3 separate regions of the Homo sapiens genome follow, and regions 1 and 3 are each linked to region 2. The links are contacts of gene promoters, found by promoter capture Hi-C in blood cells and fetal thymus (Javierre and others, 2016). All regions are on one chromosome and are shown on one strand. The core of a region is centred on a gene start or on the middle of the fragment in contact, and the rest is flanking DNA. Distances in the headings are between cores, read along the strand shown.

Region 1 (3,047 bases), core at 377-2,876, 200 kb before region 2:
AAACGATCTTCCCACCTCAGCCTCCCAAGTAGCTGGGACCACAGGCGCACACTATTGCAACCAGTTAATGTTTGTATTTTTTGTAGAGACAGGGTTTTGCCATGTTGCCCAAGCTGGTCTTTTAATTCCTGGGCTCCTCCCTCCTCAGCCTCCCTGTGCTATTGACGTGTTATTTCATTACTTGTTAGCCCCTTGCGCAGGATTTTGTGTTTGGGACAAGCCAACAGTGATGGAAATTTTCTCCCTTTTTTGTTTTGTTTTTTTTGAGATGGAGTTTTGCTGTTGTTGCCCAGGTTGGAGTGCAATGGTGCAATCTCGGCTCACCACAACCTCTGCCTCCCAGATTCAAGCGATTCTCCTGCCTCAGCTTTCTGAGTAGCTGGGATTACAGGCATGCGCCACCAAGCCTGGCTAATTTTGTATTTTTAGTAGAGACGAGCTATCTCCATGTTGGTCAGGCTGGTCTCGAACTCCTGACCTCAGGTGATCCGCCAGCCTCAGCCTCCCAAAGTGCTGGGATCACAGGCTTGAGCCACCGCACCCGGCATAAAGCATTTATTTTTGAATGTTCATATTTTTGATAAAGCAGTGTGACATCAGGAACATTTCGTTGCAGTCATTTTCTACCATGTTGGTATGCAATGCTCTAATGTTAAGAAATCAAGCTGAAATCTAGGAAATGTAGCCTGAATGTCTGTGATATATAAGACATAATTACATAAACGTAATAGCTGTATCTAAAAGTTGACCTATCTTTGTGTTGAAAATTTCCATCGGGCCGGGCGCGGTTGCCCATGCCTGTAATCCCAGCACTTTGGGAGGCCGAGGCGAGTTCGAGACCAGCATGACCAACATGGAGAAAACCTGTCTCTACTAAATATACAAAATTAGACGGGCCTGGTGACGCATCGCATGCCTGTAATCCCAGCTACTCGGGAGGCTGAGGCGGGAGAATCGCTTGAACCCAGGAGGCGGAGGCTGCGGTGAGCCAAAATCGCGCCATTGCACTCCAACCTAGGCAACAAGAGCGAAACTGTGTCTCAAAAAAAAAAAAGAAAATTTCCATCATTGTTTGCTTGTCCCAAACAAAATCCTGCGTAAGGGGATACGAAGTAATGAAATAACACGGCAGTAGATCTGCCTTTGCACATTGCTCAGGAGGCCACGGATTTGTCCGAAGTTTCTTTTTTCTCTAAAATGAGAAATGGAAAATTGCCTTTTGAAGAAGATGTAAATGCCCCACCCTCTGACGCTGTCTCACTCCCTTCCTGTGTCACTCTTACCGCTGAAGTCAGGACCTGACATTATCTTGTTGACATGTTTGCGTTTTTATCGTCAGCCTCGTCGAAAGGGGCGTACGATTGCTCCCCGAAACCAGGGTCTTTCCCGGCCGATTCCCCAGCTAGCAACAAGCCCCTTGCAAAGAGGAGGCGGACAGTGACTGGAATACAGGGACACGCACACTCGAGCCACACTGGCCGCCTCCCTCGGCCCTCGCAAGGGTCCCTAACGCGCCTTCGGAAGCCGCCTAGGCGGGGCCTGCGCGCGCGGGCCTCTGGGAAGTGTAGTTCGCGCGCCCGGCGTGGACCCGGGGTTGCAGGAGCGAGGCTCCGAGTGCGCAGGCGCACTTCCAGTTCTGCCCCACCGCTGCGGCCATTGTCCGACCCCGGTGCGGCTGAGGCCCCTTTGGGCAGCCCCTCCGCAGATCAGAATTGGAGATAACCGAGGCTTCGGCGGGGGCGGGAGGAGCTGCCCGAGGCTCTGGGTGGGCCGGAGGTCGCGAAATCCGGAGCCCCCCAGAGGCGGTGATTCTGAGTGCGCGGGTCTGGGCGGGACCCCTCCTGGGTTTGGCGGGTGTCAGCCGGGCCTCGCCCACCACCCTGCGAAGGGGACTGGGCGTGGCCGGAGGGGGGTGTCCGGGAGGCCGCTGAGCCTTTCATTTCGGGGATGGGGAGCGGCAGGCCCGGGCTGGTTCCACGGTCCTCGCCACCATCTCCCCTGGAGATGTGGTTTAGGGGCGGAGGTGGGGCGGGGCGGGGCGGGGTGGGGTCGGTGTTGCAGCGGGGTGAGTGGGCCCTGTCCTTTCTCCCCAGCTCCTGCCCCGGAGCCGGGCCCTGGCGAGGCAGGAATGGCCCCGAGGCCTCCGACCGCCGCGCCCCAGGTGAGCAACGCGTTCCTAACCTCCTGGGCATCCCATCCATCTATCCATCCCATCTCCCAAGGGTGTTTGGAGCAGTCATTGTTCTCTGCCTGGCGACTCCCTTACTTGCTTGGCTCGATCGGAGCCTCCTGGCCATGGAAAACCCCAGGCTTTGGGGAGCTGGATTCCCAAAGGGGAGGCTGCTCTGTGGGGTAGAGAGGGCCAGTGTGGTGCGATCTTGTGGGAGGAGTTGAGATTGGATGCGTTGGGAAGTGTCAGTTTTGAGAGTCCTGAATGCCACGCCAGTTTTTTGAACTCTTGTCAATAAGAAATGGAGAGAGTGGGGTCACAGGATGGAACACTGTAGAGGAGGAAGTGACTGTCGGCAAGTGTGGAGAGAGGAGCCCCAGCTTCTGACCCAGGGCCCATAGAGAGTCCGTAAGGGGCCGTAGAAGCCTGGTTAGAACATGTCTAGGAAGAGGCTGGAGATGGGCTTTCTTGGGCAAGGAGGCAAAAACAAAACAAAATAAAAAACAACCAAAAATAAAACCAGGGCTGATTCTCCCAGAGCTTTTTGTGTCTGTCCTTTTCTGCTTTAACAAAAATGTAATAGAGCAACTCACTCCCCACCGCCAGAAGTCCAGCCTTCACCTTAATGTGAGGCTGATTCGTGAACCCATTTATTCTTGTGGCAGAGGGGGCATTTTCTAGAAGCGTCACAACTCTAAGGTTATCCATTGATTTACATATTGGTGAAAATACATCAAGATCCAGATGGTATCTGTATCTTTGAATCTACATTCTCTTTAGAATTAAGGGAAAATGACAGATTGTAGTTGCTAGGTGTGTGAGACATCAAGATCAATTCAAATAAAAATACCAAGTTGCCAGGTACAGTGGGTCACAC
Region 2 (2,714 bases), core at 121-2,620:
TACAGGCGTGAGCCACCATGCCTGGCCCTATTGTTACTATTTTTACCCCTCACTTCTGTACAGAGCATTTATGGCTCAAGAAACATTTGTCATTTTAATTGTATGGGAGTCCCACAACAGCATAGGGAGACATTTCTGATCATTATTCCCATTAGGAGGGTGGAGAAACTGAGGCTTTGGGAGGTGGTCCTGACCTAGGGAATCAATTTGCTGACTCACTAACCCATGAAGCTCTACAGTTAAAAAAGACTAGATTAAAAAATGAGAACTCAGTAAAGGGGCTGAGGCAGGAGGATCGCCTGAGTTCAGAAATTTGAGATCAGCCTCGGCAACATAGTGAGATCCCCTCTCTAGAAAAATTTTTTAAAAAATTAGGCCGCTCGAGGCAGAGTGCAGTGGCTCACGCCTGTAATCCAACACTTCAGGAGGCTGAAGAGGGTGGATCACCTGAGGTCAGGAGTTCCAGACCAGCCTGGCCAACATGGTGAAACCCCGTCTGTACTAAAAATACAAAATTAGCCGGTGTGGTGGCACACGCCTGTAGTCCCAGCTACTCAATAGGCTGAGACAGGAGAGTCTCTTGAACCCGGCAGGCGGAGGTTGCAGTGAGCCGAGATCGTGCCACTGCACTCCAGCCTGGGCAAGACAGAGCGAGACTCCGTCTCAAAAAATACAAACAAAACAAACAAACAAAAAATTAGGCTGCTAGCTCAGTGGCTCATGGCTCACACCTGAAATCCTAGCACTTTGGGAGGCCAAGGCAGGAGGATCGCTTCAGCCCAGGAGTTCGAGACCAGGCTGGGCAATACAGGGAGACACAGCGCCCCCACTGCCCCTGTCCGCCCCGACTTGTCTCTCTACAAAAAGGCAAAAGAAAAAAAAATTAGCCTGGCGTGGTGGTGTGCACCTGTACTCCCAGCTACTAGAGAGGCTGGGGCCAGAGGACCGCTTGAGCCCAGGAGTTCGAGGCTGCAGTGAGCTGTGATCGCACCACTGCACTCCAGCTTGGGTGAAAGAGTGAGACCCCATCTCCAAAACGAACAAACAAAAAATCCCAAAAAACAAAAGAACTCAGCCAAGTGTAAAAGCCCTTTCTGATCCCAGGTCTTAGTGAGCCACCGGCGGGGCTGGGATTCGAACCCAGTGGAATCAGAACCGTGCAGGTCCCATAACCCACCTAGACCCTAGCAACTCCAGGCTAGAGGGTCACCGCGTCTATGCGAGGCCGGGTGGGCGGGCCGTCAGCTCCGCCCTGGGGAGGGGTCCGCGCTGCTGATTGGCTGTGGCCGGCAGGTGAACCCTCAGCCAATCAGCGGTACGGGGGGCGGTGCCTCCGGGGCTCACCTGGCTGCAGCCACGCACCCCCTCTCAGTGGCGTCGGAACTGCAAAGCACCTGTGAGCTTGCGGAAGTCAGTTCAGACTCCAGCCCGCTCCAGCCCGGCCCGACCCGACCGCACCCGGCGCCTGCCCTCGCTCGGCGTCCCCGGCCAGCCATGGGCCCTTGGAGCCGCAGCCTCTCGGCGCTGCTGCTGCTGCTGCAGGTACCCCGGATCCCCTGACTTGCGAGGGACGCATTCGGGCCGCAAGCTCCGCGCCCCAGCCCTGCGCCCCTTCCTCTCCCGTCGTCACCGCTTCCCTTCTTCCAAGAAAGTTCGGGTCCTGAGGAGCGGAGCGGCCTGGAAGCCTCGCGCGCTCCGGACCCCCCAGTGATGGGAGTGGGGGGTGGGTGGTGAGGGGCGAGCGCGGCTTTCCTGCCCCCTCCAGCGCAGACCGAGGCGGGGGCGTCTGGCCGCGGAGTCCGCGGGGTGGGCTCGCGCGGGCGGTGGGGGCGTGAAGCGGGGTGTAGGGGGTGGGGTGTGGAGAAGGGGTGCCCTGGTGCAAGTCGAGGGGGAGCCAGGAGTCGTGGGGACGATCTTCGAGGGAAGGAGAGGGGCATCCGTAGAAATAAAGGCACCTGCCATGCCAAGAAAGGTCGTAAATAGGAGTGAGGGTCCCGGGGATAAGAAAGTGAGGTCGGAGGAGGTGGGAGCGCCCCTCGCTCTGAGGAGTGGTGCATTCCCGGTCTAAGGAAAGTGGGGTACTGGAGAATAAAGACATCTCCAATAAAATGAGAAAGGAGACTGAAAGGGAACGGTGGGCTAGGTCTTGAGGGGGTGACTCGGCGGCCCCCTCCCGGGAGTTCCTGGGGGCTCGGCGGCCGTAGGTTTCGGGGTGGGGGAGGGTGACGTCGCTGCCCGCCCGTCCCGGGGCTGCGGGCTGGGGTCCTCCCCCAATCCCGACGCCGGGAGCGAGGGAGGGGCGGCGCTGTTGGTTTCGGTGAGCAGGAGGGAACCCTCCGAGTCACCCGGTTCCATCTACCTTTCCCCCACCCCAGGTCTCCTCTTGGCTCTGCCAGGAGCCGGAGCCCTGCCACCCTGGCTTTGACGCCGAGAGCTACACGTTCACGGTGCCCCGGCGCCACCTGGAGAGAGGCCGCGTCCTGGGCAGAGGTGAGGGCGCGCTGCCGGTGTCCCTGGGCGGAGTAGGGAGGGGTTGGAAAGGGGCCGAGAAATTGCACTCCCACACCCCTGGGTTGCAATGGGCAAGCTCCCTCCTTGGCTCAAACGACACCCCTTGGAATTTACGCAGATTTGGGGATCCAAACGTTTACGACTGAACACTGTGGTGGAGGGGGTAACCCTGCCTGGTTGTTGACTATGTTATAAAGAAGAGG
Region 3 (2,859 bases), core at 358-2,857, 220 kb before region 2:
TGGAAATCAGAGAGTGCCAGCCCTGTGAACTGAGGTGTTTCTTATTTGTTTTTTGCAAGAAGCTGTACTTATATTAATTCATTCATTAACCCATTCATTCAGGGCATGAATATTAAAGGCTGAGGATTAATAAAATATACAACTCAGCTTCCCCCCGGCTCACAGGAAATCCTGGCCAGCTAGGAAGACCGACAGATGAACAGAAAGTTGCAATGTAGGGGCCAGGTGCGGTGTCTTATATCTGTAATCCCAACACTTTGGGAGGCCAGTGTGACAGGATGACATGAGGCCAGTTAAAGACCAGCCTGGGCAACAAGCAAGATCCCATCTCTATAAAAAATACAAAAATTAACCGGGCATAGTGGGACACGCCTGTTGTCCTAGCTACGTGGGAGGCTGAGGCAGGAGGATTGGTTGAGCCCAGGAATTCAAGGCTGCAGTGAGTTATGATTTCACCACTGCACCACAGCCTGAGTGACAGAGTGAGGCCCTGTCTCAAAAAAAAAAAAAAAAAAGTTGCAATGTAGGGCCACATCCTGGGCCTAATACCTGGTGTTCAGTAGAAGTTTGTGGAATAAATACAGGATTGAAAGGGTGGTTTTGGGAAGGTGCCAGAAAGAGTGAACATCTAGCTGGGTCTTTTTCTTTTTGAGACGGAGCCTCGCTGTGTCGCCCAGGCTGGAGTGCTATGGCGCAATCTTGCTCACTGCAACCTTGGCTCCTGGGTTCAAGCAATTCTCCTGCCTCTGCCTCCCGAGTAGCTGGGATTATGAGCACCCGCCACCACACCTGGCTAATTTTTGTATTTTTGGTAGAGACGGGGTTTCACCATGTTGGCCAGGTTGGTCTCAAACTCCTGACCTCAAGTGATCCACCCGCCTCAGCCTCCCAAAGTGCTGGGATTACAGGCATAAGCCACTGTGCTCAGCCTTCTAGCTGGGTCTTGAAGGATGAATAAACTCACCAGGAAGGCAAGCAAGTCCAGGGCACATCCAGGGACTGCCTGTGACGAGGAGAAAAGGATCACGTGTAACAAGGAGATGCTGGTTACATTTGCTGGGCTGGGGAAGGTTGCCCAGGGAATGGGGACAGGGTGAGAAGAGGAAAAGGGCAAGGAGGGGCCCTGATGAGGAGTGACACTCAGGAAGGTAGACTCTGAAGAGAAGTCCTCCCCCACCCCTCAAGCCATCACTGAGATCTCTACCCCAGGCCAGCGCCTACTCATCCTTCAAGGCTCAAGCATCACTTCCTCCAGGAAGCCTTTCTGCCCAGCTCAGGCTGTGGTCCTCCCCCTTCCATGTGGTGCTCCCAGCACACTGCGCCACCAACCTTGTGACTGCCCACCTCCAGTCCTGTATTGGGTTGGCTTGTCTGTATGCTTGCCTGTCTCCCAACAGAGGCTGTATGCCCAGTTCTGGTGATGCTGCCCCACCCCATGCACTAGTGGCTCCCTGGATTCCGGCCGGGCTGTGCTGCCTATGGGATTCCATCACACAGATGCACGAGGCCTGTAAGGAAAAGTGGATCCCAAAGCCAGAGTCTGAGTCAAGGGTTGCTGGGGGTGGGGTGTGGACAGGGGGTTGGCCGAGGGAAGGGTATTTTACTCCACATCACATAAGATTTTTACACTCATTGCCAGGCACAGTGGCTCACGCCTGTAATCCCAGCACTTTGGGAGGCCGAGGCAGGTGGATCACTTGAGGTCAGGAGTTCAAGATCAGCCTGGCCAATATGGTGAAACTCCAGCTCTACTAAAAATACAAAAATTAGCCAGGCCTGGTGGTGCACCCCTGTAGCCCAGCTACTCTGGAGGCTGAGGCAGGAGAATCACTTGAACCCGGGAGGCGGAAGTTGCAGTGAGCCAAGATAGTGCCACTGCACTCCAGCCTGGGCGACAGAGCGAGACTCTGTCTCAGAAAAAAATAATAATAAATTGCACTCTCTCTTCTTTGTTTTTTTTTGTTTTGAGACAGAGTCTTTCTGTCGCCCAGGTTGGAGTGCAGTGGCATGATCTCGGCTCACTGCAGCCTCCGCCTCCCAGGTTCAAGCGATTCTCCTGCCTCAGCCTTCCAAGTAACTGGTATTACAGCGCCCACCACTACGCCTGGCTAATTTTTGCATTTTTAGTAGAGACGGGGTTTCATCATGTTGGCCAGGCTGGATAATCCACCCACCTCAGCCTCCCAAATAACTGGTATTACAGCGCCCACCACTACGCCCGGCTAATTTTTGTATTTTTAGTAGAGACGGGGTTTCACCATGGTGGCCAGGCTGGATAATCCACCCACCTCGGCCTCCCAAAGTGCTGGGATTACAGGCGTGAGCCACCGCGCCCGGCCAGACTTTTACACTCTCGAGAGGGACTTTGGAAGTGCCGTGGGTGACAGCCCTTCTGAAGTCCCCAGGACCCTGGCTGGAAGGGATGGGTAATTAGAGCTGTTGTGCCTGGGTGACAAAGCCAGAGAAGCCTGGTCCCTGGAGGAGAAACCGAAATGTCTGGAGAGGTGGGGCGGGTGGCCAGGCTCAGGGTAGAGAGAAGCAATACAGAGGCCAGGTAAGAGAGCCGCCCCCTCTCTGGACAGGGCTGCAGGTGAAATACGCCGCCCGAGGTAAAGGAAAGAACTGCAGGTTCCATAAGTGTCCGCTAGGGGGCTACCGAGGATACACCAGCTGGGTCGCCTTGGTAACCGCGGAGCTGCGAATGTGTTGTCCCCACGCGGTGGCGGGGAGGTACCAAGATCGCCCCAGGCGCGGCGTATCAGACGCTGGGGTGGGGGCGGGGGTCTGTGGCCATCAGCCCCAGGCAGGCCGTGAGCCCAGGCCAAGGTCCAGGCAGAGATGAAGGACCCAGCTTACTTT

What was found. Contacts are between HindIII fragments. The CHiCAGO score rates a contact against its expected background, and 5 or more counts as called.
Region 1: a contact is called between the fragment with the promoter of ZFP90 here and the fragment with the promoter of CDH1 in region 2, in 2 of 17 cell types (monocytes and fetal thymus). The highest score is 7.1, in monocytes.
Region 3: a fragment that was not itself captured here is called in contact with the fragment with the promoter of CDH1 in region 2 in 3 of 17 cell types (erythroblasts, M0 macrophages and M1 macrophages); the score reaches 5.3 in erythroblasts.

The regions. Positions count from the first base shown.
Region 1 is chr16:68,537,665-68,540,711 of GRCh38, forward strand. ZFP90 (ZFP90 zinc finger protein) reads left to right here and starts at 1,627. Exons shown (of 5, transcript NM_001305203.2): 1 at 1,627-1,815; 2 at 2,094-2,161. The coding sequence starts at 2,129. The HindIII fragment of the contact is 12,761 bases long and covers 1-3,047 here.
Region 2 is chr16:68,735,922-68,738,635 of GRCh38, forward strand. CDH1 (cadherin 1) reads left to right here and starts at 1,371. Exons shown (of 16, transcript NM_004360.5): 1 at 1,371-1,542; 2 at 2,376-2,490. The coding sequence starts at 1,495. RefSeq lists an enhancer at 392-536, a cis regulatory region at 464 and a silencer at 1,417-1,486. The HindIII fragment of the contact is 3,737 bases long and covers 1-2,714 here.
Region 3 is chr16:68,518,146-68,521,004 of GRCh38, forward strand. No RefSeq gene overlaps it. Among named protein-coding and RNA genes, the nearest start is that of ZFP90, 20 kb to the right of the region's middle. RefSeq lists enhancers at 2,730-2,809, 2,830-2,859. The HindIII fragment of the contact is 3,788 bases long and covers 1-2,859 here.